Regions from separate parts of the Homo sapiens genome. Here region 2 is linked to region 1. The links are contacts of gene promoters, found by promoter capture Hi-C in human tissues and cell types (Jung and others, 2019). All regions are on one chromosome and are shown on one strand. The core of a region is centred on a gene start or on the middle of the fragment in contact, and the rest is flanking DNA. Distances in the headings are between cores, read along the strand shown. Region 1 holds the start of NFIL3 (nuclear factor, interleukin 3 regulated). Region 2 overlaps LINC01508 (long intergenic non-protein coding RNA 1508).

Evidence for each region. Contacts are between HindIII fragments. The study calls those that stand out against the background at their distance.
Region 2: a contact is called between a fragment that was not itself captured here and the fragment with the promoter of NFIL3 in region 1, in 1 of the 25 tissues and cell types used here (dorsolateral prefrontal cortex).

Annotation. Positions count from the first base shown.
Region 1 is chr9:91,419,039-91,426,234 of GRCh38, forward strand. It overlaps NFIL3 (nuclear factor, interleukin 3 regulated), which reads right to left and starts at 4,794. Exons shown (of 2, transcript NM_005384.3): 1 at 4,602-4,794. LOC105376146 (synapsin-1) reads left to right here and starts at 4,995. Exons shown (of 2, transcript NR_188612.1): 1 at 4,995-7,196. It overlaps LOC124902209 (a long non-coding RNA gene), which reads left to right and starts at 2,584. Exons shown (of 2, transcript XR_007061661.1): 1 at 2,584-2,666; 2 at 2,981-3,021. RefSeq lists a silencer at 4,732-5,131. The HindIII fragment of the contact is 26,857 bases long and covers 1-7,196 here.
Region 2 is chr9:90,366,238-90,374,126 of GRCh38, forward strand. The region is part of intron 2 of LINC01508 (long intergenic non-protein coding RNA 1508); the gene reads right to left. Among named protein-coding and RNA genes, the nearest start is that of LINC01508, 63 kb to the right of the region's middle. The HindIII fragment of the contact is 6,140 bases long and covers 1-5,139 here.

The DNA of each region.
Region 1 (7,196 bases), core at 3,544-6,043:
TTTAGAAAAATAACAGGATATCAAACAATGTATTAAACCCCGTGAAATACAGGCATACCTTACAAAAACAAGAAATGAATATTAAAGGCAATTTCAATTACATTGTTTCTGTTATATTTTGAATTGAATCCCAAGTGTGCTCTCATTCCTCAATACAAATTAAAAATAAACAACTTTAACAGCATCAATGGCATCTGGATTACAATGGAAATCATGAAGTATATGAGTTTAACCTGGGTAAAAATAAAGCCCAGGCAATATGACTGCACCTTTTCCATTCCATGCTGCAATCGCATTTACATCTCGAAATTGACTCTAATGACCAAGGCAAGGTCAACTAGAAAAATCCACTCAGCTGGTGAGTCAGGCACATTGCTCAACGTCCGAAAGGCCTCTCACAAAGGGTTTTAATTTTCAGGCTGTTGCATCACAGTGATGTTATAACTGCACTGCACAAAAATAAGTCTTTAACCCAGAAAAGGAAATTGTTTCAAAAACTACAGTGAGTGTGAGAATACACTTTGTTGAGGTGCAAATTTCCCCATCTGGTTTTCAGGCTCTGCGACCTGGGCTGCAAATTCATTTCTCTGAGTTTCCATTTCCTCATCTATGAAATGTGGATGATAACAGAGCCCCTCAACACTGTGCCTGGCACATGCAGAGTATGTGTTTAGTAAATACTAACTCTTTATCTCTTTTCTGAAGAATGATCAGTATCAAAAGGCAACGATGCCTATCAGTTCCAGGCTGTTTTTGCTGCTCGTGACTCTTACTGAAGCCCTGACCTATGTCGCAAGTGTAAGGGTAAACCAAATGAAAATTTGGTCAAAAGGGTCAAATATCAACAGTTTCACAGGACTGGCCTTAGTTTTCAGGCTACATATACCCCCTACAAGAGAGCTTATCTGTGGGGTCTCACCATCCACTGCTGATCTCAGACCACAAAGTTTTAGATAGAGAAATCATCCAAGCTACAGAAAATGAGTCACAGAATGTGTAAGGGAATTGGAAAAAGCTGAGCTATTAATATGGCAATTGTCACGTCATTCCTGCTACTATAATCGACTCATCTCTCTATTCCTTCAAGCAGCTCCCCAAAACATTAACCCAATGACTTGGGAAGTTTGAGGTTCTGCAATCCTGTCAGGAATTCCCCTCAAACTGAAATTAACATTGAACACGATGGCAAATTAAAAAATATATATATTATTAGAACAAAAAAAGTATCTCAAGAAAGATCTTACAGACTTAATTCCAACACGAATCCTTACTGTTACTGCGAAGAGATTTACAAAGAGAAAAATGAAGGTAAATACACACACACACACACACACACACACACACACACACACAGATTCTGGTTCCTGATCAATAACACAGGAAACATTTATTGAACTCCTCACAACCAACTAAGTCAACAGGTTTTATTCCCTCAGTTTACCCTGGAGAGTGATGGAAATCAGGACAGTGTTGGAAGATAACAAGCTGGGGCCTGGGACCCAGGGTTCTTGTGAGCCCAGGGCCTGCGCTCTTAGGATCTGTACCTCACCGAAACCTGTTCTCTAACTACTGCCTGTAACAGGAGGGAAACTGATTAGGGATAGCGGTGTAGGGTATGATGCCAAAGAAAGCAAGTTTTCGGTCAGTTTTCAACAAAGAGCAGATTGCGTTGATATGCTTCAGGAGAACATCTGTGATGTCTCCATGAATTACTGCATGGGTACAATCTTGGAAGTCTTTATGCGAGGATGAAAGTACTGTAGTTTTACAGTAGGACAGCAGCGTCTATGTGGGCGTTTAGATTTTATTTTGAACTCTGGAGATCAGTGTTCTCTCTCCTCTAGCCTTTGACCACATAAATTAAAGGTTAAAAAAAATCGGCTCAACTCAACTGGCCAAAGTCAAGCTGAGGCCTTCCTTTTAATCACTATCAATACTGGAGCGCCTCCACCCCCAATTTCTGTGGCCGGTGGACGTTTGGAGGTTTTTCTTAAGGTCTTTTTCACTTCAAGAATGGAGACGCGCTTGGTTCCGAAATACAATGAAGACTCTTGGAACAAAGGTGTCTGCAGGTTTCTGAACCTCACCGCAGAACAGGCGCGGAGTCAGGCCCCTGGATTTGCCCTGTTGGAAGGAGGGCCGCGGAGACGCAGGCGCTCCGGGTCGCCCGCGCTGCCCCTGTCTGCCCCGTGCGGGAGCCGGGGTCCCTGGCTCCCTGGCTCCCTGGCTCCCGCGGCCCGGGCGAACCCAGAGCGCACCCGTACGCCGGCCCCGGCCGGTCCCTAGCGCCCGGGCTCCACGGGCCGCGCCCCCACGCGGCGCCTCCCAGAGACCCTCCTCCCTCCGGGTGGGCGGCGCAGCGGGGCCTCGGCGCCGCGAGGACCCCCCGCGCCAGAACAAAGGAATGTGGGGAGGGGGCAGGGAGGAGCTCAGGCCACTGAGCAGCCCCAGTATAACTGCCGTTCGGAGGCGCTTCTCGGTCCCGACCCGAGGTCCCCGCCCGCCACTACCAGACCCGCCCCCAGCCCCGGATTCTCGCAGACCCCACCGGCCCGCAGGAGGGAGCGGCGCACTGGGGGCCGCACGGACTCGCCATTGGAGATCGCGATCGGAAGGTGGCGCCACGCGGCCCCTACAGGCCTGGGACTCCCACCCGAGCTCGCAAAGTAGGTCGGGGTCTGAAGCTGGGGGCCTAGAGCAACTAGCTTCTTGGAAAGCGACTGCAATTATTTGGGGTAATATACTCTGTTCCAGAGACGTCCACCCCCCACCTCCCACAAAAAAAAACCCTGCACTTAATTTAAATGTTACGTTATATATACATCCCATCATATACATATATTCACACATAATCACTATGTAACAGTCCAGGAAGAAATTTAATATTTGGGTAAATTACATATTCACACATCTTCACATAAGTAAAACCAGGGTATCCAGACAAAAAAACAATCTACTAACCTATATCTGTTTCCCATAGGTCATATCTGGTCTGGGGGTAAATAAATACTTCTGACCTCACTTACTGTTGTTATTTACAAAAGCCAAGAACAGAAGATGACACTTGGCCATTCCCTGCTGTTCTCAGAGAACAGCAGTTTCCTAAAGTGTCCTTTAAAAACATAAATGGGAGCCAGCATCCAGCAAATCACCGGGCGCTGCGAAATGCCTTCCTAAAAATACAATCTTATCAAAGGTCTCCGAAGGCGTGGAGTTAAAACTACAGCAAATGGCCTTGAACTTGTATTTGCACACAGCCCTGGAGAAAACACCAGAAATAGCACTGCGAGGCCACAATTGTTAAAATGTGATAGGGCTAAATTTAGAAGAACGTGCGTTTCATTTAGGGCAAAAGACACACATTCGGCAGCATGAGCAAACTCCATGCTTACCCGGTTGTCTACTTTCCTGTTTAAAATATCCTTAAGGAAAAAAAAAAAACTGTTATAGTGACATTCTTAAAGGCTGAGACTGTCCTACTTTCTTTGTAGCAAGATTATAAAATCACGTAATTAGCTCCCTCTCTCTATGCTCACTGCCAGCAAATTCGGCAGTTACATAATGCAACATTTCCAGGAAACTATTATGTGATTTGTCTTGTCGTGTCTGAAAAAGCAATGACAATAAGGTGAGAAAAAGGGCTGATCGAATGGAATGCATTAAAATTAGGAAGGTGGGGAGGTAAACGTCACAATGGTTCGTCCCAGATTTAAAAATAACAGCTGAGAACATTGAAAGGGCGAACCCCAGTAGTACCCAAGATCAGAATTCAATGCGAGCAATTCTTGCTTTTAGGTTTTGTAGTATCGTTTTAAAACCTGTTTATTTGGGACGTAATATAGACGTAAATAACGATCTAATATCCAACGCTGCGCCTCAATTACCAAATCATTGCACACATACGCGCATATTCCCACATCAGCCCGCAATTCTTGCCAACATTTCACCGTGGGCAGATTATGCAATGTATGAAAGGACAAATCCCACAACCTTCCCGAGGGCTTGTAAAACACGCTGACGACAAACAGGGTGGAAAACGTCTGTGCAGACACAGCCCCTGACACAAACAAACGCCGCGCAGGCATTCTCCGAATGCCGTCACCGTTCACGCTACCAACCCTTTTTCTCACCAAGCAAATTAAGACTATTCCCCATTCCTCAACCCCCCATTCCTCTCCCCCCTACGCCGCCAGCCCCAGAGAAGGAACGAGAAAGAAAGACACTAGAGAGGAAAGAGCATCTTCCCGCTCGGAGAGGGCTCAGCCTGCCTGGCGCTCTTCTTTACCAAAACATCAATTTTCCTGAAATCAGGAGACATTATGCAACAGCAGCGGGGGGAGAGCGCAAACCAGCCAGGACTACGTGCCGGCGCGAAGGCGCTGCAATCAAAGCAGCCACCTTAAGGTGGCGAGTCCCATCCTGACAAGGCAGCAAAAGTTTATGTAATGAATGCCCCGCGCGCACTCGCCGCCGCTGGCGAGCCCAGCTTACAGCCCGACCCCGCACACAGCGCGGCCCGCACCCCGCGCCCGCCCGCCCGCCCGCAGCGCGCCCTGGGAGCGGTCGCCGGGCCCCCGGCCGGCGGTGGGCGGAGCGCTTACCGTGTTCCTGCTCTCGGGCCGGCGAGGAGAAAGAAAGGGGCGGCCGGGAGTCGGGCCGCCGGCGCTCGGGGCTCGGGCCGGGCCGGGCCTCCGGGGCCGCGGCGGGAGGCGGGCGGCGGCGAGGGCGCGGCGCGGGAGGCGGGCGGGCGCGCCGGGTCCGCGGGCGCCGTGGCCGCGCGGAGAGATGTGTGTTAGTAGGTCAGTTCCGAGCGCCGCGCTACGTCGCCGCCCGCCAGCCCCGCGTGACTGGCGGCCGCGGCCCCAATCGCCGCGCCCGCACCCGCCCCCGGCCCGCCGCCAATGGCCGCGGCCGGCAGGGGCGGGCCGGGGCGGGCACTCCGCGGCCCCGCCCCGCCTCCCCGCCCTCAGCTCCCCCTCCGCGGCGGCGCCACTACCAGCTCGCGTCCCTCCCCGGCCAGGGCCACCGCCGTCCGAGCGCCCGCGAGGGCTGGCGCCCCATTCCCGGCGCAACGAGTGTTGCGCAACGGCCCACGCGGCCGACACGACCGGAGCGAGCCTGCGGAGGAGCCCGGGAGCCCCCCGTCCCACCGCCCCGTCCGCTCTTGGCTCCCTTCACCCTCCCGGTCGCCGCGGTGGCTCTGCGCTCCCCGCGACCCTCACTTGCTCGCAGAGGCGCTTTTTGTCTTCCTGAGAGCCGCAGCCTGCTGGGCTACCTGTTGCCGACTGAGCACTGCGGGTTGCGGCTACCCGGGCGTGGCCCGGACCTCGGCCTCCCCTTCCCCGCACACTCCCGAGAGGAGCCCTCTACCTTGGGGTGGGCAGGAGGGAAGGCGGGGGGTGGCGGCTGGCAAGCTGCCAACACTCGGGGCGCGCTGCGGCGGGGAAGGGGTTGGCGCGGCCGGGCAGCTGCGCAGGGCTGCGCGGCGGAGGCAGCGATTAAAATGTCCCGGCGCCTCTCCCGAGAGCCGCGACGGCCCGGAGCCGGGAGGGAAAGCTCCACGCACAAACACCGCCCCCTGCACAATTAGGGCGAAGATGACGGCTGCAAAGTTGTTGCGTAACACGACTGGGAAACGAGGCTCGCTGAGGTCCATCTACCCACCCCCGCCACGCGGGTGCGGCGTTCCTCGGAGGATGTGAAGGTCCGCGCTCGGGTGCCCCCGCTGGGACGCCCACTGTCGTTTGGTGCTGGGGCTTGAGACGACCGCGCGGGATCTCTTCCTGTGATTTTGAGCTGATAGCTGCTTAGTGTTATTTCTGCGTCTAACTGGATACGGTAGTCTTCTCTCCCAAATTCCCGGGCTACGGAAGAGACGTAAAAAAATGGAAAAAAGAGCACCTAGCCGCGACTTCTTAAGTCGTCGCGCTAGACTGTCAAGGCACGTGGCACACTCCCTGCGTTTACCGATACACGGATAGTGGTCAGTGCTGGCCTTGGCGAAGGGAGCCATGTTCCCGACAGTGACTCACAGGCTTGCCCAAATACGGAGTGTGGCAGGTGGGCAGGACCTCCACCAGCCAGCTCCCTCCTGGTCTCCTTGAACTACGTGGGGGCTGGGCCGAGTGCCTCCACGACTTTCCACTTCTTTTTGCTCCTTTCGTTTTTAAAAAGCAAAAACCAAAGTAAAGAGAAGAGCAGAGTGAACACCCAGGTACCATCCCTAGTGTCTGCCATGAGCAGCAGATCTATCTACTCGCCAAGATTGTCTTTTCTACCTTTCCCCTTCTTGCACAGTTAATATCATAATAACGCAAGTCATATTTAAAAAATTTTTATCACCTATCAGTTGAGTTTTTGGAAAGCCTTCCAGGGCAGCGTTGTGGTTTTGAACGCACTCTTGTTCGTGATTTATCTGGTAGTACAGCTCTGCTGACAAGGCTCTGAAAACTCAGACGTACAATATGGGCTTAGCGTGTTCCCCGACACCATCTTCCCGGTGCTGACTAATGCAAGAACCACATCCCCTCCACTACACATTTTCCAAACTTGACTACCTTCATGAGAACAAATCCTGATTTTAGTTTATAATTTCCACTTTTCTCATACATATATAATAATTCAAGATGTGGTCTTACTATGTTGTCCAGGTTGGCCTGGAACTCCTGGGCTCAAAGGATCCTCCGGCCACAGCCTCCCTGGTAGTGGAATTACAGGCGCATGCCACTGTGCCTGGCCACTTTTCTCAAATTTACTGATAGTTTCCTTTTTGCCCAAACCTTACAATGCTTATTTGTAGCTTTGAGAACCTCTCTTAGATGAAATCAAAATCATATCCATATTAGTTGCCTTTTTGGGGTCAGAAATGCAGCTATTGTCTAGAAATCCAGGGCTGTCCTGCATAATCTACCCTCCCCTTCACGTGTTCTGACCTTGTTCTGCATTTTGAATAATTTCATGGAATTTCAAAGCCGTTGTAGTAAATGTCTTTCTTTAAAGACAACTCGACCTTCAAGACAGGTAAAGAACGTGCCTGGAGCCACCCCAGGCAGTGATGCTGGAGGAGTTCTCTCAACCTGGAAACTTATTCTTTATGCTGAATTTTGAAATCGAATGCTCCTATATTTACTTGGAGTATTTTAGATTGTGTATGTATTATATCTGTGCATCATTCATTGTTACCATCTAACTTGGAA
Region 2 (7,889 bases), core at 820-3,319, 1.1 Mb before region 1:
AAATGGTAACATTTGAAGGTAATCTTTCTAATTAAAAAAACCATATTTTTCTTTTTTTTAAAAAAAGAAAATAAAGAGAGGTGTACTACACTTGCATTACATGAGAAAGTGCAAAAAACATATTGATTCAAAAACAAAGAAATGTTCTGTCAGTAAGCTTCCTAATCATGTGTTGTTTGTTGTTCCCGAAAGCATTGCTAATTGGAAAAGGCATTTCCACACACTGTTATCAAAGCAAGAACAATTTTCCTTTTAAGAATTTGTAGCCAGGCGCGGTGGCTCACGCCTGTAATCCCAGCACTTTGGGAGGCCAAGGCGGGCAGATCACGAGGTCAGGAGATCGAGACCATCCTGGCTAACACAGTGAAACCCCATCTCTACTAAAAATACAAAAAACTAGCCAGGCGTGGTGGCGGGCGCCTGTAGTCCCAGCTACTCTGTTCTCTATTTGTAAAGTGTTGTCACCAATACCCACACTGGTCTACTTACAATTGTTTTCAGTACATTTTGCTATCTAAAAAAGCAAATATACTTGCCTTCTTGATTACTTTTATAAAATTGTTTTAAATAAAAGTGTGTACATTTCCTTACTTTGTTAATTTTCTGAAAAGTTTTCTAAGATCCATGAATAAAATCTGTTGGGACTTTTATTGGAATTATACTTAATTGACTTAGTAAGACAATTTGAGGAGAACTGTCACCTCCCAAAACAAGGGTATGCTTATGCCTCTAGATTTATTTAAATCATATTTTCTGTCTTTCCGTGTAATTTCATAATTTGCTCCCTACAATTTTTAAAATTTATGGTTAAGCATATTTCTAGGTACTTTAGACATTTTGTTCTATTTTAAATATGGTTCATTTGTCACATTGTCAATTTTCAAACGTGTTGCTCTTGAGTTACAAGAAACTGGGATGTTGCATATTTCTTTTTTTCTTTTTTTTTTTTTTTTTTTTTTTGAGACGGAGTCTTGCTCTGTCACCCAGGCTGGAGTGCAGTGGCACGATCTCAGCTCACTGCAACCTCCGCTTCCTGGGTTCAAGCGATTCTCCTGCCTAAGCCTCCCAAGAAGCTGGGATTACTAATTATCCTATTGATTAACACTTTTTCGTTTTTTGGTGGTTATTCTCATAGAATGTTGCATTATCTATGAATAATGATAGTGCTATTGTCTCTTTCGCGCAATATTTACTCTTCTGCTGGCATTTCTTGTCTTACTGTCATGGTTACCTTCTTCAGTGGGGTGTATGTTGACCATTAGCTGGGATAGAGACCATACCTCACTTGTTCATTTTGATTTTCTAATAGAGTATTTTAAATGATTTATGATTAATACTTCATTTGCTAGAGGTGTTTGGTACAAGCATTTCTGAGGTTTAGAAAAGTTTTCACCCATATGTGTTTTCCTTCACACTAATTATTTTCATAATTACTTATTTTTTGTCTCCAAAATTGAGATTTTTTTAGACAGAGCTCTTTTCCCAGATTTACATGTGTGCATATGTTCAGAGATAACCTGCTGAATGCCTCAGAAGCACTTTAAACACAAAAACCCAGGCTTAATATCTTCCTTCTAAATATGTCTGCCTGTTACTTTCTCTGCTCACAGTAGTGGAATTACCATATCCCTGTCACACATGCCAAATTCCAGGCATTAACTTTAAATTTTCATTCACTGAGAAAGAAATGAAGGCATTAGACTGTTGACAGAAATTTGGTAAGCACATTTATAAACAGGTAACATTGAAGCAAACCTCTATGTGTGTGTGCATGCATGTGTGTGTATGCACATGCTTACTTGTGCATATGTATGTATGTAGAGGTATATATAGAAAGAACACATATCAAATTTATGATATTGATCTTTTTTCTGAAGAGGGAAATTGAAGTGGAGACAAAAACAAAGGCATCTTAAAGTATACATAAGCTAATATCCCTTTTTAAAAATGAAGATCTAAAACAAATTATTCTGGGTGGAGGTATAAGGATGATTATTATAATATTGTCTGTATTTTATATTAAGATATTTCTAAAGAAAAATTCCAAATCAAAGACCACAGTGGATTTTGACTAAAATATGAGAGTATTAAAAGAATGTAGGCAGGTGAATATGAAATAGGAATGTGAGCCAGGGGCTGACATCATTGAAATGCAAATATGTGTGTGGCACAGCTTCAACTGTTACAAGGTTCTTAATAACTCTGCTTATCTCTTCTAGAATTCTTAGCCTGATATTTCTTAAAAAGAACTGCCAGCTTCAGGTTCCCACAAAGTATGCAGATTCTGGCTAAATTATTCACTCCCACTGTTTACAGAATGTACCTGTCACTCTTCACCTACACTCATGTGTGGATTTGCATTGTCTAAGAGGATAGCTTCTCATTTAGTAAGTGCTTATTAAGCCAAGCATAAATTACAATAATTTCTTAATTATATTTAGTACTCAGGTATAAAAGAGCCTTTTGTTGAAGAATTTTAGAGATCAAGGGGATAAAGACAACTAAGTAAATCAACTGTAGCTACAAGCAAATAAATGTCAAACTATTGATTTTTCTCTCTCTCTCTTCTTTGCAGTTTTAAAATGCTTATTTACAGAACAAGACTTAGAATGACAGCATGAGGAACTGCATGAACGCTCTTCCAATCAAATCAACTATCACCAATGAAAACATGTTTTTTAACTATTTCGAATCTCTGGAAATTGTTCTCAGATCAACACCAAGTGAAAATACACATTTATTCAATAAAATCTACCAAATCTTAAGTAGAAACAGCAGATTCCTGTGGTTCCTGAGACTTGCCCACCTCTTGCCTCATTCATCTTCCAACTTAGCATAATGGAAATTCCACCACAAGTCGGCGTGGCCAAGGAGATGGGGCTCCCTCTTCTGCAGGCTCCAAGTTGAGGGCTGCGGTCTCCTCCTTGGACAGGGAGTCTGACAGCATCACTCATCCCCCGCCAGCTCTGTGCTGTAGAGGCTAAATTTCAAGCAAGCATGACTGAGAGGGTTGGGGCTTCCCTCTTACTCCTAGACCAGAGTGTGAAGGTTCTGCCAAGAGCATGACAGGCCAAGAATATTAGGGCCCTGATCATCCTTGGCACATTTCAGTCACAGAGCAAACATTTCTTGCTGGTAGAGTTAATCCAAGAGGACCAGAGGCTGTCACCACAGTCCAGCACACAACTCAAAGCAGTGGCCACTCTGAGAAAAGTGGCTCAATCCCTGAGCAGGGGCTCCGAAACTTAGCCCAAGTGGAGAGGCAGGTCACAGAACAGAGTTCCAAAGCTTTCCACAAAGAGACTAACATTATTTAGAAAAGAATATGGAGAAATTCATGCCTAAGTGTTCTCTTAAAACCAAAGGTGATTTTGTTGTCAAGCAATGAAGAGGAGGCTGTTCTCTCCAGGAGAGCAATGGGCTAAACTATAAGCTCGTTAATTTACTAGGGAGAACCAGAGAATGACACAGCTTTCCTTACTGTCCTTTGAGAACAAACCTCAAAGACTGGTCTCAAAAACTATCCCTAAAAAGAGACAATATTTAATTGACTCAGGCTATAGAGAAAATTATGTTCCAGGGAATTGTCAAAAAAAAAAAGAGTAATCACTTGATAATTAGTAAACCTGGGCTCAAAACCAGTAGAGGCAGACAGCTTGACAGAGGGACAAAGGAAAGCGCTATTCAGAAAGAGCCCACATCCATAGACTGCCATCCTAGGGCAGCTGCGTTCATGTCCACGGTTGTGTGTGCTCTTGGAGAAGTGACATCAGATTCTCCACATAATGAGATCAGTAGACATCACTAAAATAATTCCACCAAGTTGCTAAACAATACACAAGCAGAAGCCATCAAGAGCAAGTCCTAGAAGATGTGGTATGATAAATATCCAAAGTTGCTACAGTGAATTACCTAAAATTCCCAGTTTTCAACAAAAAATATGAAATATTTTTTCTCATACAGGAAGAAGCAGGAAACAGAAACTTCCCATGAGAGGGCCAAATGACAGACTTACTATAAGATTTCAAAGCAGTCATTATAAATATAATTTAAAAATTAAAGGAAATTATTCTCAAAGGAGTAAACAAAAGTATAATGATAATGTCTCATCAAATAGAAGATAATACAATGATAGAAAATATAAAAAATAACAAAATAGAAATTTAAAAATAGAAAAATGTAACTGAAATTTTAAAAAATCACTACAGTGGCTCAAAAGCAGGGTTTAGCTGGCAGAAGTAAAAATCAATAAACTTGAAAATAGATAGATAAAGACTATAAAATCCAAAGAACAGAGAATAAAAAGAACGAAAGAAAAGAACTAAAGCCTCAGAAAAATGTGGGATACCCTTAAGCAGATGACCATTTAATGAGATTACCTGAAAGGAAGGAAAGAGAAAAAGGAGCAGTAAAAATATTTTAAAAAAATAGCTAACATTTTCTGAAATTTGATGTACAACATGAATCTACACATTCAAGAAGCTCAACAAACTCCAAGTAAGAGAAATGTAATGATTTCACACTCAAACTTTTTTTTAAAGAAAAATATTTAAAGCAGAAAAAGATAAGGAACTCATCACGTACAAAGTCTTTTTAATCGAGACTCTTACATGAAAATGAGAGTAAGTTTCCAAAATCGCTGTGAAATAAAAACATTCTCAGATAAACAAAACTTAGGGAATATGTAACTATATGACCTGCCTTACAAGAAATCCTAAAGGAAATCCTGCAATCTGAAAGCAAGTGACTCCAGGTAGTAACATAAATTCACACATGTGCTCACACATGCATACACACACACACACAGGGCACCAATAAATGTAATAATGAAAAGCAGTTTAAGTGCATATTTCTGTTCCTCCATTCTCTTAACTTATTTATAAAGCAGTTGTATAAAACAATATGTTTATAATTTCATCGTTAGGTCTACAATATAGAGAAATGTAATACAGGCATACTTAATTTTGTTGAGTTTCACTTTGTTGCACTTTGCAGATATCTTGGTATTTACACATTGAAGTTTAGTGGCAAGCCGGAGTTGAACAAATCTATCATTGCTATTTTTCCAACAGGATGTGCTCGCTTTGTGTTTCTGTGTCACCTTTTGGTAATTCTTGCAAACTTTCAAACTTTTTTCATTATTATTATATCTGTTATGGTGATCTGTGGTCAGTCACCTTTGATGTTGCTATTGTAATCGCTTTGGAGTGCCACAAATTGCCCCCATATAAGATGGTAAACTTAATCAGTAAATGTTGTATATGTTCTGACTGCTCTACCAACCAGCCGTTCCCATCTCCCTTCTCCTCAGGTCTCCCTATTCCCTGAGACACGATAATATTGAAATTAGTCCAATTAATAACACTACAATGGCCTCTAAGTGTTCATATGAAAGGAAGAGTCACACATATCTCACTTTAATAAGAAAATAAGTAGGCTTAGTGAAGAAGGCCCATTTAAAGTCAACATAGGCTGAAGGTTATGTTTCTTGTGCCAGTTAGCCAAGTTCTGAATGCAAACAGAAAGTTCTTGAAGAATATGAAAAGTGCTACTCTAGTGAGCAAATGAATGATGAGAAAGCAAAGCAGCCTCATTGCTGATATGGACAAAGTTTTGGGGGTCTGCATAGAAGATCAAACCAGGCACAACATTCCCCTAAGCCAAAGTCTCACACAGAGACCTAACTCTCTTCAATTCTATGGAGGCCAAGAGAGTTGAGGAAGCATCATGAGAAAAGTTTAAATCTAGCAGAGGTTAGTTCATGAGGTTTAATATAAAAGAAGCTGCCTCTATAACATAAAAGCACAAGGTGAAGCCACAAGCACTGCTGGAGAAGCGGCAGGAAGTTATCCAGAGTATCTAGCTAAGATAATTGATGAAGGTGGCTACACTAAATGATAGGTTTTTCATGTAGGCAAAACAGCCTTATATATGCTATTGTCATCTCGGACTTTCATAGCTAGAGAGAAGTAAATGACTGGCTACAAAGGTTCACAGGCTGACTCTCTTGATGGGGGCTAATATAGCTGGTAACTTTAAGTTGAAACCAATTCTTATTTATCTCTTGAAAATCCTAGGATCTTTAAAATTTATGGTAAATCTATTCTGTCTGTGCTCTATAAATAAAAAGATAAAGCCTAGATGGCAAAACATCTATTTATAATATGGTTTCTTGAATATTTTAAGCCTTGTATTGAAACCTATTGCTCAGAAAAAAAGATATTTTTTCAAAATATTCCTGCTCATTGAAAATGCACCTAGTCTCACCTAAGAGCTCTGATGGAGATGTACAAAGAGATTAATGTTTTCATGCCTTATAACACATCCATTCTGCAGCCCATGGATCAAGAACTGATTCTGACTTTCAAGTCTTATTATTTAAGAAACACATATTGTCAGATTATAGTTGCCATAGATAGTGATTCTTCTGATGGATCTGGGCAAAGTGAATTGGAAATCTTCTGGAATGGATTCATCATTTTAGATGCCATTAAGAACATTCATGATTCATGGAAGGAGGTAAAAATATCAGTATTAATAGGAGTTTGAAAGAAGTTGATTCCAACCCTCATGGATAATTTGGAGAAGTTAAAGACTTCAGCAGAAGTGACTGCAGATGTGGTAGTAATAGCAAGAGAACTTGAATTAGAAGTGTAGGCTGAAGATGTGACTGAATTGCTGAGTCTCATGATGAAACCTGAACACATGAGTTGCTTCTCAGGGATGAGCATGGAAAATGGTTTCCTGAGATGGAGTCTACTCCTGGTAAAGATGCTGTGAACATTGTTGAAGTGACAATAATGGGATTAGGATGTTACATAAAGCTAATTGATAAAGCAGTGGCAGGGTTTGAGAGGACGGACCTCAATTTCAAAGAAGTTCTACTATAAGTAAAATACTATCAAACAGCATTGCATAATACAGAGAAATCTTTTGTGAAAGGGAGAGTCAATTGATGGGATAAATTTCATTGTTGTCTTATTTTAAGAAGCTTCCACAGCCACCTCACCCTTCAGCAATCACCACCCTGATCAATCAGCAGCCATCAACATCAAGGCAAGATCCTCCACCTGCAGAAAGATTAAGACTCACTAAAGGCTTAGATGATCACTAGCATTTTTTAGCAGTAGAGTATTTTAAAATTAAGGTACATACTTTTTTCATCATAATGCTATTGCACACTTAATAGACTACAGTGTAGTTTAAACATAACTTTTATATGCACTGGGAGATAAAATAAAAAGTGTGTTACTTGCCTTATGGCAATATTGCTTTATTGCAGTGGTCTGAAACCAAACCTACAATATCTCTGGGTATGTATGTGTACCTTACAGTCTCAGTACAGAGGACATTAGTGGCACTAAAGTTGAACTGGGGTAAGGAAGTGACAGCAAATAGTTACTAGAATCCAAAGGAACAAATGAAGAGAACCAGAAATGGAAAGTAAGAAAATCAATACATCAAACTATCTAAGTATGTATTACTTATCTTCCTTCTCATAGTTTTATTTAAAAGACATAAAATTGTAAAAGTAAAAAAATAATAATTAGAAGAATGTATTTTGGGGTTTGCAAAATATATAAACGTAATATGTCTAATGACAACACAAAGGATGGTTAAGAGACACGAAAACTACAGAAGAGTGATATGTCTATATTTCACTGGAATCAAGTTAGTATAAATCTAAAATACATTCTGATTATTTAAGAAGGATATGGTATGTCCTAGAGCTATCAATAAGATAATAACAAAAACATAGTGAAAAAATTGTTAAAGATATTAAAATATTACACTAGAAAATATTCACTTTATGCAAAAAAAAAAAAGCCTGGAAAGGAGGAATAGTGGAGCAAATATACAAATATAGAAAACAAAAAGTAAAATGGCAG